Regions from separate parts of the Homo sapiens genome. Here all the other regions are linked to region 2. The links are contacts of gene promoters, found by promoter capture Hi-C in blood cells and fetal thymus (Javierre and others, 2016). All regions are on one chromosome and are shown on one strand. Each heading gives the region's core, a stretch centred on a gene start or on the middle of the fragment in contact. The rest is flanking DNA. Distances are from core to core; before and after follow the strand shown.

Evidence for each region. The method cuts DNA at HindIII sites, captures the fragments that hold promoters and counts their contacts. A CHiCAGO score of 5 or more calls a contact.
Region 1: a fragment that was not itself captured here is called in contact with the fragment with the promoter of SLC41A2 in region 2 in 1 of 17 cell types (neutrophils); the score reaches 6.3 in neutrophils.
Region 3: a contact is called between a fragment that was not itself captured here and the fragment with the promoter of SLC41A2 in region 2, in 2 of 17 cell types (naive B cells and total B cells). The highest score is 5.5, in naive B cells.
Region 4: a contact is called between a fragment that was not itself captured here and the fragment with the promoter of SLC41A2 in region 2, in 17 of 17 cell types (naive B cells, naive CD4 T cells, total B cells and 14 more). The highest score is 14.4, in naive B cells.
Region 5: a contact is called between a fragment that was not itself captured here and the fragment with the promoter of SLC41A2 in region 2, in 1 of 17 cell types (monocytes). The highest score is 5.0, in monocytes.
Region 6: a contact is called between a fragment that was not itself captured here and the fragment with the promoter of SLC41A2 in region 2, in 2 of 17 cell types (non-activated CD4 T cells and total B cells). The highest score is 5.2, in non-activated CD4 T cells.
Region 7: a fragment that was not itself captured here is called in contact with the fragment with the promoter of SLC41A2 in region 2 in 3 of 17 cell types (naive CD8 T cells, total CD8 T cells and total B cells); the score reaches 5.4 in naive CD8 T cells.

The regions. Positions count from the first base shown.
Region 1 is chr12:104,333,341-104,336,040 of GRCh38, forward strand. TXNRD1 (thioredoxin reductase 1) reads left to right here. Exons shown (of 17, transcript NM_001093771.3): 15 at 897-992. Among named protein-coding and RNA genes, the nearest start is that of EID3, 31 kb to the left of the region's middle. The HindIII fragment of the contact is 3,413 bases long and covers 1-2,700 here.
Region 2 is chr12:104,957,015-104,959,714 of GRCh38, forward strand. SLC41A2 (solute carrier family 41 member 2) reads right to left here and starts at 1,276. Exons shown (of 11, transcript NM_001352171.3): 1 at 1,074-1,276. RefSeq lists silencers at 665-994, 1,185-1,454. The HindIII fragment of the contact is 5,296 bases long and covers 1-2,370 here.
Region 3 is chr12:104,306,569-104,309,268 of GRCh38, forward strand. All of the region lies in intron 4 of TXNRD1 (thioredoxin reductase 1), which reads left to right. Among named protein-coding and RNA genes, the nearest start is that of EID3, 4.2 kb to the left of the region's middle. The HindIII fragment of the contact is 2,945 bases long and covers 1-2,700 here.
Region 4 is chr12:104,373,025-104,375,724 of GRCh38, forward strand. No RefSeq gene overlaps it. Among named protein-coding and RNA genes, the nearest start is that of EID3, 71 kb to the left of the region's middle. RefSeq lists enhancers at 1-528, 2,091-2,602. The HindIII fragment of the contact is 638 bases long and covers 1,057-1,694 here.
Region 5 is chr12:104,395,908-104,398,607 of GRCh38, forward strand. It overlaps LOC105369949 (a long non-coding RNA gene), which reads left to right. Exons shown (of 4, transcript XR_007063432.1): 4 at 2,272-2,692. Among named protein-coding and RNA genes, the nearest start is that of CHST11, 60 kb to the right of the region's middle. The HindIII fragment of the contact is 8,929 bases long and covers 1-2,700 here.
Region 6 is chr12:104,352,733-104,355,432 of GRCh38, forward strand. No RefSeq gene overlaps it. Among named protein-coding and RNA genes, the nearest start is that of EID3, 50 kb to the left of the region's middle. The HindIII fragment of the contact is 6,179 bases long and covers 1-2,700 here.
Region 7 is chr12:104,290,266-104,292,965 of GRCh38, forward strand. All of the region lies in intron 4 of TXNRD1 (thioredoxin reductase 1), which reads left to right. Among named protein-coding and RNA genes, the nearest start is that of TXNRD1-AS1, 11 kb to the left of the region's middle. The HindIII fragment of the contact is 1,331 bases long and covers 645-1,975 here.

The DNA of each region.
Region 1 (2,700 bases), core at 127-2,626, 620 kb before region 2:
ATTATAGAAGTATAACGTGTTTGAGTTGAAGAAACTTTGAAAAATGTAAGGGAAAGAGGAAACAATTACTTATGGAGTTAGAGCTGTAACAGCAATTGTTAGCAATTTGGGGTGATTCCTTTAATTTTTTTCCTATATAATTGTGATACTATGATACTGTACATTAAATTTTGTAACCCATGTTTATTTTTAAAATTATATTATTTATCACAACATCGAAGAACACTTGTTATGTCTTCATAATCAGTTTGCTCGTAAAAGGTAGCGAATCATGTTTTGAACTGAGGCTAGCAGCTGGAGGAAAAAAAAAATCCATTTAGTCAACCAGCAATTAAATTAGTAAGGATGCTGTCGTTCCACCCTTCCTTCCTCCTTTCCTTCCCTATCTCCTTCCTTCTTTCCTTCCCTATCTCCTTCCTTCATTGCTTTTAGTGAATAATGCCAAAGGAGGAAATGTCTTTTGGAAGCATTTAGCAAGAGAACTAGATAATTACCTTAATTGATCCTGGCACCTTATTTGTTTCTTGCCCAAGTTGTCATTCACAGTGGATAACAAGATAGTATTGAGTTTGGGTGTGTGTGTGTTTTCAATGTATGACAGCAGGTAATTAAATGGCTTATTTCTGTCATTCCCTTGCTCTTTTTTGTTATTAGTTAGGGTGTACTATTTTGAGGTAGAGATATACATAATTAAGGGATGAGCTTATAGCAAAAGTGCCTGACAGCAAGGAGTTGAAAGTCATTTACCTTTTGACCAGATTCCTATTTATTCCATGAATTTTATTATTTAATGAAAGTCTACTTATTAAAGAGTCTCTACTGTCTTTCACCATATATGTTTGACAGACTTAATGTTTAAAATAATGGGTCTAAATTTTGCTTTTGTATCTTCTTAGGTTTACCATAGTTACTTTTGGCCATTGGAATGGACGATTCCGTCAAGAGATAACAACAAATGTTATGCAAAAATAATCTGTAATACTAAAGACAATGTAAGTTTAATTCTCAATCCTTTCCAGTAATTTTATTTAGTTGTTGTTTTTTGTTGTTGTTTTTTTTTTAGATGGAGTCTTGCTCTGTTGCCCAGGCTGGAGTGCAGTGGCGCTATCTCTGCTCACTGCAACCTCCGCCTCCCGGGTTCAAGTGATTCTCCTGCCTCAGCCTCCCAACTAACTGGGATTACAGACTTGCGCCACCACACTGGCTAATTTTTGTAGACGGGGGTTTCACCATGTTGGCCAGGCTGGTCTTGAACACCTGACCTCGTAATCTGCCTGTCTCGGCCTCCCAAGGTGCTGGAATGTACAGGCGTGAGCCACCATACCCGGCTTTAGTTTTTAATATATAGCTTAGTTGGTCACATGGTGCAGATGGCATTCCTTCAGTATTTCGCGTGCCAGTTGTCTCAGCTGATAGATATCAGCAGCTGGCAAGGACCTTGGCTGCACTGCCTGCTGCCCCCTCATCTTCACTGGCACAGGGCCCTACACTTAGTCAACAGGCAGCCAAAACTTACTGAGTGAAGGAACCAAAGGCACAACTTGAGAACTGTCTATGTTTGTGTTTATAGAAGAGGAACAATAAAGTCATCGACTATCTAAATATAATGAATAACAAAAAAGAACAGGAGCAATGCACGTTTGATCCTCAGCAGCTGGCACTACTAAGAAAGAGCTCTTAATTGAGTTCTAAGATTTCATTGCCTGATGCTACATGTAATGCTAGTCTGGTGTTATTACGTGTAAATCTAATGTATTTTAAGTGCTTTTTAGTAGTCCTCCCACAGATATACTTTATTCATACCATAAACCCCCAACTGTCCAGGTGAATAAGAGTACAATATGCAATATATTACAGTCCTTTTTTTTTTTTTTTTTTTGAGACGGAGTCTTGCTCTGTTGCCCAGGCTGGAGTGCAGTGGCGTGATCTTGGTTCACTGCAACCTTCGCCTCCCAGGTTCAAGTGATTTTCCTGCCTCAGCCTCCCAAGTAGCTGGGATTACAGGCACCCACCACCATGCCCAGCTATTCTGTATTTTTAGTAGAGACGGGGTTTCACCATGTTGGCCAGGCTGGTCTCGAACTCCTGACCTCAGGTGATCCGTCTGCCTTGGTCTCCCAAAGTGCTGGGATTACAGGTGTGAGCCACCGCGCCCGGCCTATTACAGTACTTTTTTAGCAGAAACCTGTGAAAGCCTGTGAGCAAACTCTATACCTCACAGGGTTTTTTTCCATATATATGAAATGAGGGATTGGATAATTCATATTTTTTAAAGTTTTTTGACTGTGGGACACTGGTATATTCATATACACACACTCTCTTTAATATTGACTCTTAAGAAAACTGATCTTTTTAACTTAGCTAACACTTTTTAAAGAAACGACCTCAGTAAAAATATAAATGATGTTAAAGAATCTGTATGTTAAAAGCCTAGTAAACTGATAATGTTTTAATCTTGAAATTTGAATATAATTAAGCCATGTATCCTATTTGGAAACTACTGCTTTAGGCAGTAGGACAGTTACAGGTTGGTTTTTTGGTAAAACCAAGGGTTTTAGAAAACATTTTCTTGAATCCTCTGCAAAAAAGATTCAAATGAATATACTAGGATAACCCATAATGAGCTACACAGCTAACATAAATAACAATTGTATATATAGTTGTCTTTTTCTTTTTAGGCAAATTTTCTCAAAAGTTTAT
Region 2 (2,700 bases), core at 26-2,525:
ACGGAGCAATTGCCCTCCTAGGTATATACCCAAGAGCACTGAAAACACATGTCCACAAAAACGTGTAAACAAATGTGCATAGCAGCATTACACACAATGGCCAAAAACTGGAAACAACCCAAATGTACATCAACTGATGAATAAACAAATGTGGTACACTGATACAACAATATTAATATGCTATAAAAAGTAAAGTACTGATACATACTACATGAGTGAAACTTGAAAACATTACAGTATGTCTTTCGACGCCAGACACAAAAAGCCACATATTGTACGCTTCCATTTATATGAGATTTCCACAACAGGCAAACCCATATAAACAGAAAGTAGATTAGTGGTGGCTAGTGGGGTGGGGTCAAGGGGAAATGAGGAGTGATTACTAAGAGAGACAGGGTTTCTTTTGGGGATGATGATCTGGATAGTGGTCATATTTGGAAAACTCTGTGAATATATTAAAAGCCACACTTTAGAAGAATGAGTTTTATGGCATGTGATGTATATCTCAATTTAAAAATTGTCACTACAAAAAAAAGATGACATATATACGTAATATACACATCAATGTATATCGGTAACACATAGATATGTGTCATCTCTCTCTGTAAATGAGCATTTGGGCTTTTAAATTTGAGATATGCTCCGTGTATATAAAGAGAAGAATGAAAGAAAAGGGTGACGGGGCACTCGCGGAGCCCTGAACAGGCATCTGGGGTGTGCCCGAGCCAGCCTCGCAGCATCTCCATCCCAGCTCACCTTCAGCCATCACTCATACACCACCCGCCGCCTGTCCCTGCCTTGGGCGCCCGGGACCGCTTGTCCGCGGTGGCCGCGGAACAGCTTCCCTCAGCCCGAGGTGGGGCAGGCGCGGGGGCCTGGGCTCGGGCGCTGCCCGGCGGCCCGGAGAGGCGTCCGCAGGGGGCACGGCTGCTCGGGCGGGGCCGCTCCCTCTGCTCCCCGCGCCCCCGCCGCCGGGTCCCGAGCCCAGGCCTCTCGGCCCCACCTCCCTCCCGCACCTGATGCGCCCGAACGCGGCGCCGCGGCCGAAGCCGAGACTTCCCCTCCATGGTCACCTGTTCCGGAGCGCGGCGGCGGCAGCGGCCGGTGTGAGAAGGGTCCCCGTCTCCTCAGACCAGACCGAGACACCAGGGGCGGGGGATGGAAGGGGCATTCACCTGGTGCCCGGCACCGGTGGTGGCGGGGAGGACAGCGGCTCCCAGCCCACAGCTCCTTCCTGCTCCCGCGCCTCCTCGCGCGGCTGCGGCCCCAAGCTGACAGCCCGGCCGTCGGCGCCCGCGGCCCCCTGACTCCCCGCCGCCCCGCCCCCGCGCGGCAGCCCCGCGCAAGCGCAGCCGCGCCGCCGCCGGGGAAGCCCGGGCCTTGGTGATGTGGCCCGCGGGGCGGCGACCCGGAGCGACAGCACCGCCCCGCCCGGACCCCGGCCGCGCCCTGGCAGACAGCTGTCGGGAACGGGGGCGCTGGATGACGGCAAGGGGGCAGTTTTCTGGGGAGCCTGCCCAGGAGAGAAGGGCTGTGGCCTCCTTCGGCATCCCTCTTCCCCACCAGCCCACGCACGCCCACTTCACCGCCTGCTCCAAGGTCCGAACCCCCGAATCCATGACTCATGATTTCTCTTCTCAGACCAGCGGCCTCTTTTTGGCTGAGGTCATGTTTCTTGCAGACTGGAGTTAAAACCGAACCACGTGTCTTTCGGCCCAGCAGCGCATAGTGTGGGCGGTGCAGGAGCCGAGACGGGCAGGAACCACCGCAGGAGGGGGTGAGGTTTAGGGCAGCCCCATAGCACCCTCCCCGTGCCAGGCAGGTGTAGGCGCCAAGCGCATGGGGCGCTGAAGAGTTGGCTGGGGTGCCAGGCTTTTCAAGTTTCCCCACACTTGCTTTTAAACCTAGATCAAACTGATCCAAAGTCTGCATGTAAATCCGAGAGCTCATTTATTTTATTTACAAAACTATTGAGCATCTACTGTGTATGATTCAGGGAATGAGACACACCCCAGGGATACTCCAGTGAACAAAAGAAAGGTGTTGGTCCGAAGACAGTTATTTTAAAAATTACACAGCTAATGCCATAATGCCAGGATTGGTGGCTCATGCGTGTAACCTCAACACTTCGGGAGGACCAGGCGAGAGGATCGCTTGAGGCCAGGAATTTGAGACCAGCCTGGGCAAACACAGCGAGACCTGGAGTGGCTAGGAGACTGAGGTGGGAGGATCGCCTGAGCCCAGGAGTTCAAGGCTGCAGCGGGCTATGATCGCATCACTGCACTCCAGTCTGGGCCACAAAATGAGACCTTGTCTCTAAAACAACAACTCAAAATTACACAGCTAATGATACTCTTTTCCTCAAATCAAAGCTTCTACCAATTCCAAGCCACACCAGTGATTTAGTAGCAGCTTTTCTGGTGCTGAAGGACACCAGCATACATTTATCCATGTTCTTTTTTTTTTTCCTTATGCTTTGCGATCAGACTTTGAGCTTTAACCTTAACCTTCAGGGTGAAGGGTGCTTCGGTATCACTCTTGGCCATCTGCAGTCATGCTTTTTATAATGACTCATCCTGGTGTTCCTCACCACCTAAAAATGAAAGTATAATTGCAAGGAATATGGAAAAGCAGTGTTTTGACTGCATTTCCAGCTGGTTTTTGTTCTGGTTGTTTTTTGAATTACAGATCATTAGAAAG
Region 3 (2,700 bases), core at 59-2,558, 650 kb before region 2:
AAATGACACCAAGACTGAGAGGAAGGATTTTTCATGTATGGAGATGAGGTTCTTCACCAATAATAGAGTAGAGGTTTTAGCAAAAATAGAACTTTCTCATGAAACTTGGCAAATTATTTTCTAAATTAGTTACTCCTTTCACATATGAAAGAGCGCTGACCCTTGCTAGTGTCTAGTATCCTTTGATTTATAGTAGCAGTCATGGAAGCACCATTTGATCTCACTCATCCTCATTTCCAGCATGTCTCTACCAACCAAGTTCCTTGGGTTTTGCAGAGATCTGCTGTTGGAAGAAAAAGTACTCTTAATGACAGCAAAAAGATCCCGCCCCAGTACTTTACTGACATTCAGTTGCTCTGTTGAATGTCTCATGTCTTTACTAGGAGTATTTGACAGTGATGATTTAAAAGCATTAATAGAGAATCTGGAGGCTTAGGAGAGGTAATTTTTTTGGTCTTCTCTAAAGTTAATAGCTGTTAAAATATAAAGTTGACCACTTCTGTTTCTATTTTTACTGGTTGGCATGACACCAACCAGTAAAATGATGAGGATGATGGATTGCCTCATCATTTTTGAAATTTTGAAATTAAACTGACTGCTTACCTTGAAGAAAAAAGGAGATTAAAAATTTATAGAGGTTAAGAATCAAACTGCAAATCTGCTTGTTTCTTGCTAATACGTTTGTATACTGAATAGAAATAACATTATGCTAGTCTGTCTATATACTGGATCAAGATTTGTTAGGAAGAGGGCATTTCAAAATAGTGGAGATTGACGCAGGGAAGCTCAGCGGAGGACACCAGTGTAAATACATTCCAGCACTTCTTGACTTAGTTCCAGGCAATTTCCCTTCTTCAGGAGATGGAGAATTAGTAACTTAAAGGGATTAATTCCTACCAGCCACTATGCTAACATGCATTATCTTTCTTAAACTCAGCCATTTGATGAGGTCAGGAACCTGTTAGCTTCGTTAAGGATTAGGTGATTGGTCGAAGTCACCTGGCCTTGTGAGTGGTAGAGCAAGTATTTTAACGCAGGTTATTTCTGCATCAGAGCCATCTATAATGGTAGGGGAAATAAAAGTACAAATCTGGCAAAGGATAGAAACTATGTTTAGGGGAAAAGTCAGGATTGCTTATTCCAATTTTAAAAGACTGCCACAGTTGAATTGCTTTCTGTTTTGTGCCCTTTTTGGGGGAGCCTGGAGCAGTGTTTTACTAGGAGTGGGTCTGGGGAAAGGGATTACTATGACAGGCAGGTGGATGAAAAGGAAGGCTATCTAATGTGTAAGCCTTGCCAACAAGTGACAGTTGCCTGCAGGTCATCTCATATTCTATAGCATTGGTTCTCAAAGTGTATGAGGCCCTTTTGGCATACTTTAAGGTCAGAATTATTTTCATAATAGTAAGATGCTGTTTGCCCTTTTCTTTCTTTTTTTTTTTTTTGAGATGGAGTCTCACTCTGTAGCCCAGGCTGGAGTGCAGTGGCATGATCTTGGCTCACTGTGAGCTCCGCCTCCCGGGTTCACGCCATTCTCCTGCCTCAGCCTCTCGAGTAGCTGGGACTACAGGCGCCTGCCACCACGCCCAGCTAATTTTTTATATTTGTAGTAGAGACGGGGTTTCACCGTGTTAGCCAGGATGGTCTCGATCTCCAGACCTCATGATCCACCCGCCTTGGCCTCTCAAAGTGCTGGGATTACAGGCGTGAGCCACCACGCCTCGCTGCCCTTTTCACTCTTAATTCTCTTGCATGTAAACTGTGAAGTTTTCCAGAGGTTATATGACAGGTGATGTGGCAACAGATTGAATGGAGAAACAGATATGAGCTGTCTTTTGTTGTCAGACATTAAAGAGAATCGCAAAGATACAAAACAGTGCCATTCTTCTAATTAAAAAATTTTTTAAAATAAAAATACGTTAACATTTAATAAATATATTATTTTTAATTTGTTAATGAATATTTTAAGTTTCTTCTTAGTTTTAATTTCTAATATAGTAAATAGATAAAACCCACATTAACAAGCTCTTTGGAGTCTCAATTTTAAAGCTCTGTTTAAGATTGTAAAGGAGTCCTGAGATGAAAGAGTTTGAGAACCTCTGTAGCAGCCACCACAGTCAGCGGACATAATTTCAAGCAGTTGTAGTTGGAGGAGGATGGGGGAATTTTTCTCCTTTCCTTATCCCATCTCTGTGCTACCTTCTACTGTTTGGGGCAGCTGTTTTCTACTGTCTGTCTTATTTATATTTCAGGTGAAGTACCACTTAAATGGAACTGAATGATAGCACTTTCAATTTTAAGTTTGGTTAAAATTTTAAAAACAATGTTTCTTTTTTTTTTTTTTTTTGAGACGGAGTCTTGCTCTGTCACCCAGGCTGGAGTGCAGTGCCATGATCTTGGCTCACTGCAATCTCCGCCTCCTGGGTTCAAGCAGTTCTCCTGCCTCAGCCTCCCGAATAGCTGGGACTACAGGTGCACGCCTCCACGCCCGGCTAATTTTTTTTGTATTTTGGTAGAGACGGGGTTTCACCGTGTTGCCCAGGCTGATTGTGAACTCCTGAGCTCAGGCAGCCCTCCCGCTTCGGCCTCCCAAAGTGCTGGGATTACAGGCATGAGCCACCTCACTCAGTCTCATAATGTTTCATTCTAAGGTCAACTGAATGCTTCAATTGCCTGTGTCTTGCCAATTGGTAAATTTTA
Region 4 (2,700 bases), core at 126-2,625, 580 kb before region 2:
GAGAGGAGATGAGTGTTAGGAGTGCGTGTCAGGTGGGGGAAGGGAGCTGTAAGCAGCAGAGACTGGCCAACCTTGCCCATGAGCTTTAGGTCTCCATCTATGTGTCCATGCAGAAGGGCCCCCAGAGGAGAGCAGCATCCCGGCCTCTGTCAGGAGAGGAGAGAGTTACCCGATTTAAGGAGCTCAGGAGAAAGAGTGAGTGTGCTCAGCTCATCCCTCCCCTGTGGGAGCCAGCTCCCACCAAGGGTGAAGAGGGTCAGGCCCTGGGGTTGGGGGTGGATGGAGGTCTGCAGAGGTCCCCCAGCAGCCCCTGTGAAGGATGGGCAAATTCGTTTGTGCACTGCAGTCTTGGCAGCCTTGCACATTGTCCCCAGCTTCCCGTTCCCCAGCCTACCTCTTTTTTTTTTTGTTTTTGAGACAGGGTCTCACTCTGTCGCCCAGGCTGGAGTGCAGTGGCGCTGTCTCGGCTCACTGCAAGCTCCGCCTCCCGGGTTCACACCGTTCTCCTGCCTCAGCCTCCCGAGTAGCTGGGACTACAGGCGCCCGCCACCATGCCCGGCTAATTTTTTTGAGTTTTTAGTAGAAATGAGGTTTCACCGTGTTAGCCAGGATGGTCTCGATCTCCTGACCTCATGATCTGCCCGCCTTGGCCTCCCAAAGTGCTGGGATTACAGGCATGAGCCACCACGCCCGGCCTCATCCCCAGCCTACCTCTTGTAAAAATGAGCTGCCACTTTGCTGTCCATCCCTGGGACCCTGGCAGGCTCCATGAGTAGGCAAGAGAGGGGTGTGGTTCACCAGCCCCACCTCCAACAATGTCGGGAAACTCTGTGTTCCATCTCCTCCTGAAGCTGGCAGCCCTCAGTGTATACTTTCTCAGCTGCAAATGCTACCATTTTAAACTCAGAGGATTTTAAAAAATATATTTGAGCCTCACACAGGAAGACCCAAAAATTATTAAAATATAGAACATTTAGACTGTGGGGCAGAGACTGCATCTGTTCTGTTCACTTACCCCTAGGTCCTAACATACATAGTAGGTACCCAATAAACATAAGCTTAGCAAATGACTGAAAATTAATTTAAGCAGCTCATATGTGAAAAGAGCATATACACAAAGATGTTCATTGCAGCATTGTTTATAATGGTAGAAAATTATTTTGTACAATCTGGTTAAGAAATCTGTGGTATATGAATGCAATGAAATGGCATGCTATTATTAGAATTAACAAGAGGACTATCAAACCAGGAGAACAGGTTTACGGGATGTTGCTAAATGAAATTTAATAATACTGTGATTTAAAGAATGTAAACGTGTATATCTACATAGATGAAGATTGAAAGGCCCATTTAGAGATAAAGTCATTGCTGTGTAAAATTAGCAGCAATTAAGAAACACCTTTGGTAATGTTTTACAGTGGATTCTAGAATATGTTTTAAACTCTTTTAAAGAAACCCCTGCAGTATTTTCTAAACAGATGAGATGGTGGTTTGCTATTTTCCAGAGTCCATTGAGTGAGCTGTGAAAGGCCCCATTGGATAGGGGGCTTCTGGAAATTTCCATCTCCCCACCTCCTGGTGGGTAGCAACTCAGAGCTGGCAAAATTATTCTTGGCAAAGGCAATCTCATGTCAGAAAGAGTTCTCAGTGCAAAGAGCCTTTAGCAACAGAGGTGCTAGAATCTGTGTCGGTGAAGCTTTGCAAACAGCAGGGATTCCACAGAGGCCTTTTCAGGCCTTTATTTCCCACTCTGTACCTTCTCCTCCTTCTTTTTTTTTTTTTTTCCCAAGTTTTGTAAACATCCCAGGGATGATTTTTGTACTCCCCCAGGTCTGTGGGAGTCGGATGAGATGGAAAGAGGCCTCGCATTGTCCCTGCAGACCTGTATCCCTTCCGGCCACCCCTGCTGCCCTCACACTCCCCTCCCACCACAGCACCCACCTGTGGTCTGACAGAGGACACCACACCTTTGCCCATTCTCACACCCCCTCCCGCTGGACAGCCCCTGTCCTTAATGAGGCAGCTTGATGTTTTGTGGGACCTGCTGGTGTCCTGCCCAGGGAGGGGTGTGAGGGGTGGTGGGCTGGCCTGCTCCTGGAACTGTAGCATCAAACTGTTCAGGCTTTCATTTGCAACAGCCACACACTGGGACACCAAAATAGGTCCCGGCGGAGATGTGGGTGGGGCTGGCCTGGGCTTGGCCCCACCCAAGTAGGGCGCCAGGGAGACAGAGTGCCCCAGCACCACCAAGGTGGGCAGAAGCCATGTGGGGCCACTGAGAGAAATTCCACTGAGGTTCCTGTTGGGCCTTCCTTCCACCCAAAGTTTTGGACCTTCTGCTTGAGTGAATTATAGTGGGAATTCTGGGCTTTGGCTTTGGGGGCTGCCAGATGAGAAGGGTCTTAGTGTTCAACTGGTCCCACCTGGCACTGCGGGAAAAGCAGAAGCTGTCACCTCCCAGCTCTGCCATTTACTAGCGCAAGTTGTTGAAGGCCATCGATTCAACGCCATTTAGGTGTGTGCTAAGCGTTACATACACCTTATCCTTTGTCATCTCCACAGCTCTGGCATGGGTGTACTCTTCAGAGATGACAAAACTGAGGCCCAGAAAGGGTGAGTCACTGGCCCAGGGTCACCCAGCTTATCGTAGGTGAAGCTAGGATTTAAACCCAGATCTAATTTTCCTCCCAAGCAGGTGAC
Region 5 (2,700 bases), core at 130-2,629, 560 kb before region 2:
AATTCCACCATCTGATACCAGCTTCTTGCTGTCTAAGAGGATGTTTATGGAATTAATATGGTTTGGCTGTATCCCCACCCAAATCCATCTTATCTTGAATTGTAGCTCCCATAATCTCTATATGTTGTGGGAGGGACCCAGTGGGAGGTAATTGAATCATGGTGGCAGGTCTTTCCCATGCTATTCTCGTGATAGTGAATACATATCACGTGATCTGATGGTTTTATAAAGGGGAATTCCCCTGCACACTCTCTCTTGCCTGCCACCATATAAAACGTGCCTTTACTCCTCCTTCACCTTACACCATGATTGTGAGGCCTCCCTAGGAACGTGGAACTGAGTCCATTAAACCTCTTTTTCTTTATAAATAAGCCAGTCTTGGATATGTCTTTATTAGCAGTGTGAGAATGGTCTAATACAGAATGTCCATGGATAGGAGCCTCAAAGAGGTGCATGGTACTTCCTCCCTGACAGTACTTTCTCCCCTGAGACTTCCTTGCTGTCTGCCATCTGCCTTCTGCACCCAAATGTTTATGAGCATCTGAATTTTCCAGCTATCATGAAAAGAAATTGCCCTGAATCTGCTTGCAGTATGCACTCACTTCAATTCAGTACAAATTTTCCAGAATTTCTTGGTACTTTAGCATTGCATTCATTGACTGAAAAAAAAGGTAGAATTTTTTGAAAAAATGTGTAAGTAATTTAAAGCATTATTGTTGCATTAAATTCAATGCAGCTACATTACTGGGGAATATATGAAATCCAGGTGAATCTTAAAGTGAAAACTAAGATGAGCAGATACATTTCTAACTTCCTGGTCAGCTTCAGTCTAGACCTCCAAGCCCCCAGGGTTCAGTGATCATTTTTGCTGCCCCAAACGATACTGGTGTGGAAAAGTTTGAGGCGCTCTAGGTTACAAAGAGTCCCTTGAGCCTCTTGGCCATTGGTCATTAAGCAGAAAAATACACCCGGTTCCTTCTGTCCTTGGCTGCCTCCCATTGCTGTTTACCCATGACCATGGTCTGCCCATTGGCAGGCAGGGTCTTTTGGAGTTAAGGGCTTCCTTGGCAGAGTGTCCCCTGTAGTTTTAGACCAGGAGGTCCATGGAGTGTGGTTTTCAAGGCTAAGTCAGAGACCACCCCAGAATTTTGAGGCTGAAATGGAGCCTGTTCCTTTGGCCAATCTCACCTGGTTTTGGTATAGGAGGGGTTAGGAATGGGTAGTAGGTGGCTAGAGCTGTGATGGTCTCCATTTAGGAGCCTAGTGAAACCAACAGAGTCTATACTTATGTGTGTATAGATGATGGAATCTTTGACATTCTTTGAATAAGGTGTTCCCTTAGGTTTTTTTTTAAAAAAGAGAACATATTTCCATGTATTTTAACATTTATTCATTCCACAATATTTGTTTTGTGTGTGCTGCACTAGGCCTGGGGAATACAGCAGCAAACAAAACAGGTAAAAACCACTGCCCTCACAGAGCTTACATGCTAAGGTGGAGAGAGAGCAAATTTAAAAGACGATTAAATATCTGGAATGTCTGATGGTGATTGCTGCTATAAAGAAAAATGAGGGAAGAGGAGTGGGAATATGTGTGTCTGTGGGTGAGTTGCAATTTTAAGTAAGATGGTTAAATGCCACTGAACAGGTGACATTTGAGCAAACCATCAGCAAACTGATGCTGAGTCAATTGCTTTGAAGTTGCAGCCTGCTGGACTGCCTGAAGTATTGGATAGAGGATATGAGAGAAGGTGAGAAATTGAGGATGACTCCAATGCGGTAGGCAGTTTATGACACAGCTCACAGTTACCCCCACCTCCTGGTATTCATGCTCTTGTATAACTTTCTTCTTGAGTCTGTGATGGACCTAGTGACTTTTTTTTTTTGAGACAGAGTCTCACTCTGTTGCCCAGGCTGGAGTGCAGTGGCGTAATCTGGGCTCACTGCAATCTCCACCCTCTGAGTTCAAGCAATTCTTCTGCCTCAGCCTCCCGAGTAGCTGGGATTACAGGCGTGCGCCACCACGCCTGGCTAATTTTTTGTATTTTTAGTAGAGACAGGTTTCACCATCTTGGCCAGGCTGGTCTTGAACTCCTGACCTCATGATCCACCCACCTTGGCCTCCCAAAGTGCCGGGATTACAGGCGTGAGCCACCGCACCCTGCCCGCCCTTTTTTTTTTTTTTTTAATCATGAATAGATTACGGCAAAGTTGATGGGATCTCATTTCTGTGGATATATCACCAAGATTGTGACTTCTGTCTTGCTGGCAGATTCTCTCCATTGCTTTCTTGGCTTTAACACTTCAGTGAAGCAATCTGCCTTGTTGAGAGGCCCACATGGCAAGGAACTGAGGGCAGCCCCTGACCAACAGCCAGCCAGGAACTGAAGATGTCAGTCCAACTACCCCTGATGAACTGAATCTTGAACCACGTGAGCTTGGAGTGCATCCTTCCCAGTTGTGCCATGAGATGAGAGCACGGCACCAGTCAACAGTGTGACTGTTCTTTGAGAAAGACACCAAAGCAGAGGGGACAGCTAAGCCATATCCAGATTTTTCACCCACAAAACTGAGATAATACATGTGTGCTTTTTAAACTGTTAAATTTTGGGACAATTTGTTATGCCACAATATATAATTAATACACAAGGTTTTTGGCAACTGGAAGAATAAAAATAGTATTTATGATATCACAAGATGA
Region 6 (2,700 bases), core at 30-2,529, 600 kb before region 2:
CCTGGATTCACTTAGCATTCATAATTTTTTTTAATACAATGAATTTAAATTGCTAAAAGATCATGGACTGGCTTTCTGGTTGGATTTCAGGTAAGATGTGTTTAAGGCCAGAGCTCTTCCTCAATATTTGTTTTTTTCCCAATATTTGATTTTTAAAATATACACATAGATGCTACATTTATAGCTTCTGGCTTAAAATTCTGTCATATGTCACGTCTAGCCTTTTAGTATGGTAAATCATGTTTTACTTCTACTTAAACATTAATAATTTGGAGTATCTGTTACTAGTAATAGTAATTCTATAATTGTATAATTGAGTTTTGTACTTAACACACATAGGTCATTCCTCATCTATCATTTGCACCCAGTGCAGTTTCATTTTTCAGATACCATGATGCAAAATAGAGTTTTTCATCATTTAGGTGTAAGCAAAAACCCCCCAAACCAAAAAATGATACTGGCCGTTACCCAGTAGAATTAAACGCATGGATAGCTCATGACCCAGCTGTTACACGCTTAGGTGAATACCCAGCACAAATGCACTGTCTACGTACCTAAAGACTTGTACAGGAGTGTTCATAACACTGTTATTAATTGCAAAACAAAATAAATCCCAAAAACAAACGTGGAAGCAGCCCAAATATCCATCACCATGAGAATGGGCAAATGAGTTGTGGTGTGTCCATGTAACAGAAGACTAACAGCAGGATATATGTAACAAAATAGATCTAAGAAACAGTATTGAGTGAAAAAGTCAAAGGAGTATGTGCAATATGATTTCATTATGTGTACAGAGAGGCAAAGCTAAGAAATACAGTGTTTAGAGATAAAATTGTAATACCCTAAGGGAAAGCAAGAGAATTCAAAATGATGATCATAAAATAGAAGCTAGTAGTTACCAATGAAGGGGTAGAACAGTGGATGGTGTATTAGTCTGTTTTCATGCTGCCGATAAAGACATACCCGAGACTGGGTAATTTATAAAGAAAAAAGGTTTAATGGACTCACAGTTCCACGTGGCGGGGGAGGCTTCACAATCATGGCAGAAGGCAAAAGGCACGTCTTACGTGGCAGCAGACAAGACAGAATGAGAACCAAGTGAAGGGGATCTACCCTTATAAAACCATCAGGCCTCGTAAGACTTACTCACTGCCACGAGAACGGTATGAGGGAAGCTGCCCATGATTCAATTATCTCCCACCAGGTCCCTCCCGCAACGCGTGGGAATTAGGGGAGCTACAATTAAGATGAGATTTGGGTGGGGCCAAACAATAGAAGATGGGATTAGGAAGGGGCAACCATGACTGAAAGGTCGCTCAGGACTTGGGCATTTGTTTATCAGTATTATCTATCTATCTATATATTTTTTATTTGGTTCTACCTTAAACTATTAAGGGATAATATCTATATTTTTAATAAACTTTTTAAAACAAGCAGCTTAGAAGAGGTGGGGGTGGAGGGTGCAGCTTGGAGTACTGGCAGAATACTAGGTAATAGGAATATGTCCATCAAGTTTTCACATACAGAAATAGACCAGACTAGAAAGAAAGATGCTACAGCAGAAGGCCCTTCCTGACCATCACCTACCATGGTTCCAACATCAGTCTGAAGTCGAGGAATGGGTTAAACATGCACTAAATTTTGGGGTAATTTCTGACACAGCAATAGATAATTAATACGTGGGAGTTGGAGAGGGAGGTTACAGAACAAGTAGGCCAGGCCTTATACCCCCTTTATATCACAGCACTCAACTTTTAACATTTTACAAGATTTTATTTAGGAAAGGAAAAGGGATGCATTAAGTTTTTAAATGTGAGGTTCCGTAGCAAGGAAGCAGGGTTTCCCTGCAGTACCCTTCCTGCTAATACACTTCACTGATGCGTTGACACATTGCCTTCTGGGCACTTTTTTTGTGCCACAAGATCTCACAAGGAGCTGAGCAGAGCAGACTAGGATGCTTCTGTGTCCCTTGGCCCTCAAAGTGAGCATGGTCTTACCAGTGAACGTCCTTTAGTACAGTTGTTCATCTATCCAGCACTATTTCATAGTATTTGAGATTGGAAAGGGAGGTCAGCTCCTCCAAGTCTGTTTGCAGATGCAGAAACTGAGAGCTAAATAGGCAAAGCTACCGAGTCAACATCAAGTTCAAGGTTAAACAGCCAAACACAGAAGCCAGTTTTAACTTCCAGTTATCTATTTTTCCACGCCACCATCCTGCCCATCATCATCTTTGTAGATTCTCCTACATTCTTAAACACACCCAGCCACGTAAGCACACTTTTGATTGCAGTGCAATTGAAGAGCGTGAAGAAAGCATACATTGCTTATAAAAAAAAAAAAGCCGACAGGTCCTTGGCCCTGCAGTCCACATGTGGTAGGTATGCGGGAAACACATCCTACAGACCTCAAGTGAGGCATCAGAAGTCCTTGCCATTGGCTTCCTTTTGTGTATGATGGTGATACCCTCTTGTATGTCGGGAAAATGAGGTAGAACCTGCCTAATAATTGCAAAAGCAAACAGTCTGGGTGAGTGTGTGCTAAGTCAGCAGAGTCAAGGAAGAAAATTATGGACTATCCTTTATGTCCAGAGCACAGCGGACACAAAATGAAGAAACACAATCTAGGGTGAGTGTGGTCAGGTAAGGTGGGTGAGTGTAAAAGAATTGTTATTCCTTCATTTCTTCAACAAATACTATGCAC
Region 7 (2,700 bases), core at 60-2,559, 670 kb before region 2:
GGATCTAGACTTCAAACAGCAAATTAATGGAAAATTAATGGAAATACAGAGGCTTTTAGCTTTAGTTAAAATATATTGTGTTACTCAGACCTTTAGTTTGCAGGTAAAAAGAGATAACGGTCTATTATATTAATATTCCTTCCTGGCCGGGTGCGGTGGCTCACACTTGTAATCCCAGCACCTTGGGAGGCCGAGGCAGGCGGATTGCTTTGAGCTCAGGAGTTCCAGATCAGCCTGGGCAACACGGTGAAACCCCGTCTCTACTAGAAATAAAAAAATTAGCCAGGGCTTGGTGGCACATGCCTCTGGTCCCAGCTACTCTGGGACTGAGGCTGAGGCTGGGGAATCAACTTGAACCTGGAGGTGGAGGTTGCAATGAGCTGAGATTGCGCCACTGCACCCTGGCCTAGGTGACAGTGAGACCCTGTCTCAAAAAAAAAAAAAAAGAAATATACATATATATATATATATATATATATATATATATATATATGTATATTTCTTCCTGTCTGATTATTCTATTATTTTCACCTGTGCCATAAGTTTACATTTACAAAGTTATATAGTAATTTGATCTTTATGTAATTCTACTGATACTCCTGGTTTTAATGGCAATGGGAGTAAAAAGAGTCACTCTTTTTATAAGCTTTGGAACTCACTTAATTGATTTGGTCTGATGTTCTGATGTTTTTTCTTTTTTTTTAATTGAAAACTTTTTTTTCTTTAGAGATGGAGGTCTCATTATGTTGTCCAGGCTGGTCTTGAACTCCTGGGCTCAAGCGATCATCCGGCCTCGGCCTCCTAAAGTGCTGGGACTGCAGGTCACGACATTTAGTGAGGTATAGTGCCATGAATGAAAAGCATACCATCAAGAACACTTAAAAGAAATCATTTAGCATATTTCTTAAGTAAACTTATTCTACTTTGTGTCTTTTTTTTTTTTTTTTTTTTTTGAGACAAAGTCTCGCTCTGTTGCTCAGGCTGGAGTGCAGTGGCATGATCTTGGCTTACCGCAACCTCTACCTCCCAGGTTCAAGCGATTTTCCTGCCTCAGCCTCCCGAGTAGCTGGGATTACAGGCACACGCCACCACACCCTGCTAATTTTTGTATTTTTAGTAGAGATGGGGTTTCACCATGTTGGTCAGGCTGGTCTCGAACTCCTGACCTTGTAGTCCAAAGCGCTGGGATTACAAGTGTGACCCACCGCACCCAGCTTTTTTTTTTTTTTTTTTTTTGAGAAGGAGTCTCACTCTGTTGCCCAGGCTGGAGTTCAGTGGCGCGATCTTGGCTCACTGCAACCTCTGCCCCTCGGGTTCAAGTGATTCTCCTGCCTCAGCCTCCCGAGTAGCTGGGATTACAGGCGCCTGCCACCGTGCCTAGCTAATTTTTGTATTTTTAGTAGAGACAAGGTTTCACCATCTTGGCCAGGCTGGTCTTGAACTTTTGACGCCGTGATCCACCCACTTCGGCCTTCCAAAGTGCTGGGATTATGGGCGTGAGCCACCGGGCCCAGCCCTATTTTTGTTTTTTAATGAGTGCTAAAAAATGAAAGGAGAAACAGCAAGGTAAGGACTATTGGTTTGAAAGATCTGTGAACTTTTCAGCCAATTATTGCCCACATTTGGGGCTAAATGGTAGGTTTTGAAACCCTTAAGGGAGCTTTGGGTTTCAGTGGAGAAAGGCATTTATTTAGTGGAGAATTGAGTGCTTATAGTCCTAAAGGCCACACCTTTAAAAAGAAGGTTAAGATTTCATACTTTAATTGCAACATAAATAATGGAGGGAGCTCTTCAAAATGTCCACTTTTCCTTTCTCCTTTTAATATTGTTTCTTCCTCATCCCCTTTTCCCTGAATAAACAACAGCAGCAAAACCTACCCTGCTTTCACAGTGAGTGTACTATAGAAGACAAGGGAGAAAGAATCCTGCTGGAAGAAGTTGGTGAGCCTAGGTGACTCCCTTGATAAAGGATGAAAGCTTTGCAGAAGAGTGTTCCAAAAAAGTGTAGTCTCCAGACCACCTGCTCAGAATCCCCTGGAGTACTCGTTAATTATGCATGCCCAGGCTTTACCCGAGTTCTTTTGAAGTAGACTCGGGAAAGAGCTAGGAATCTACCCCCGCCCCCCCGCCTTTTTTTTTTGAGATGGAGTTCTGCTCTTGTTGCCTGGGCTGGAGTGCAGTGGCATGAACTCAGCTCACTGCAACCTCCACCTCCTGGGTTCAAGTGGTGTGGTTCTCCTGCCTCAGCCTCTCAAGTAGCTGGGATTATAGGCATGCACCACCATGCCTGGCTAATTTTGTATTTTTTTAGTAGAGATGTGGTTTTGCCATGTTGGTCGGGCTGGTCTCGATCTCCTGACCACAGGTGATCCACCCACCTCGGCCTCCCAAAGTGCTGGGATTACAGTGTGAGCCACCACGCCCGGCTTGCCTTATTGTTTTTGTTTTGTTTTAAATAAGCTCCCTCCAATAATTTTTAGGATAAATGTCAAGTTTGAGACGCTTTAATATTATTGTACATAGGGTAGTTTGATCAAGATCATTTGATGAGATAATTAGAATTGCGGAAAACAAAGGACTAGTCTTTAATACCCAAAACATATTTGTTAGAAAACAGCAAATAGGAACCCAATGGGGGAGGAACACTTTTTGTTGAACACTTTAACAATGAATAGAAAAATAGGGAACCAAGCTGTTTGC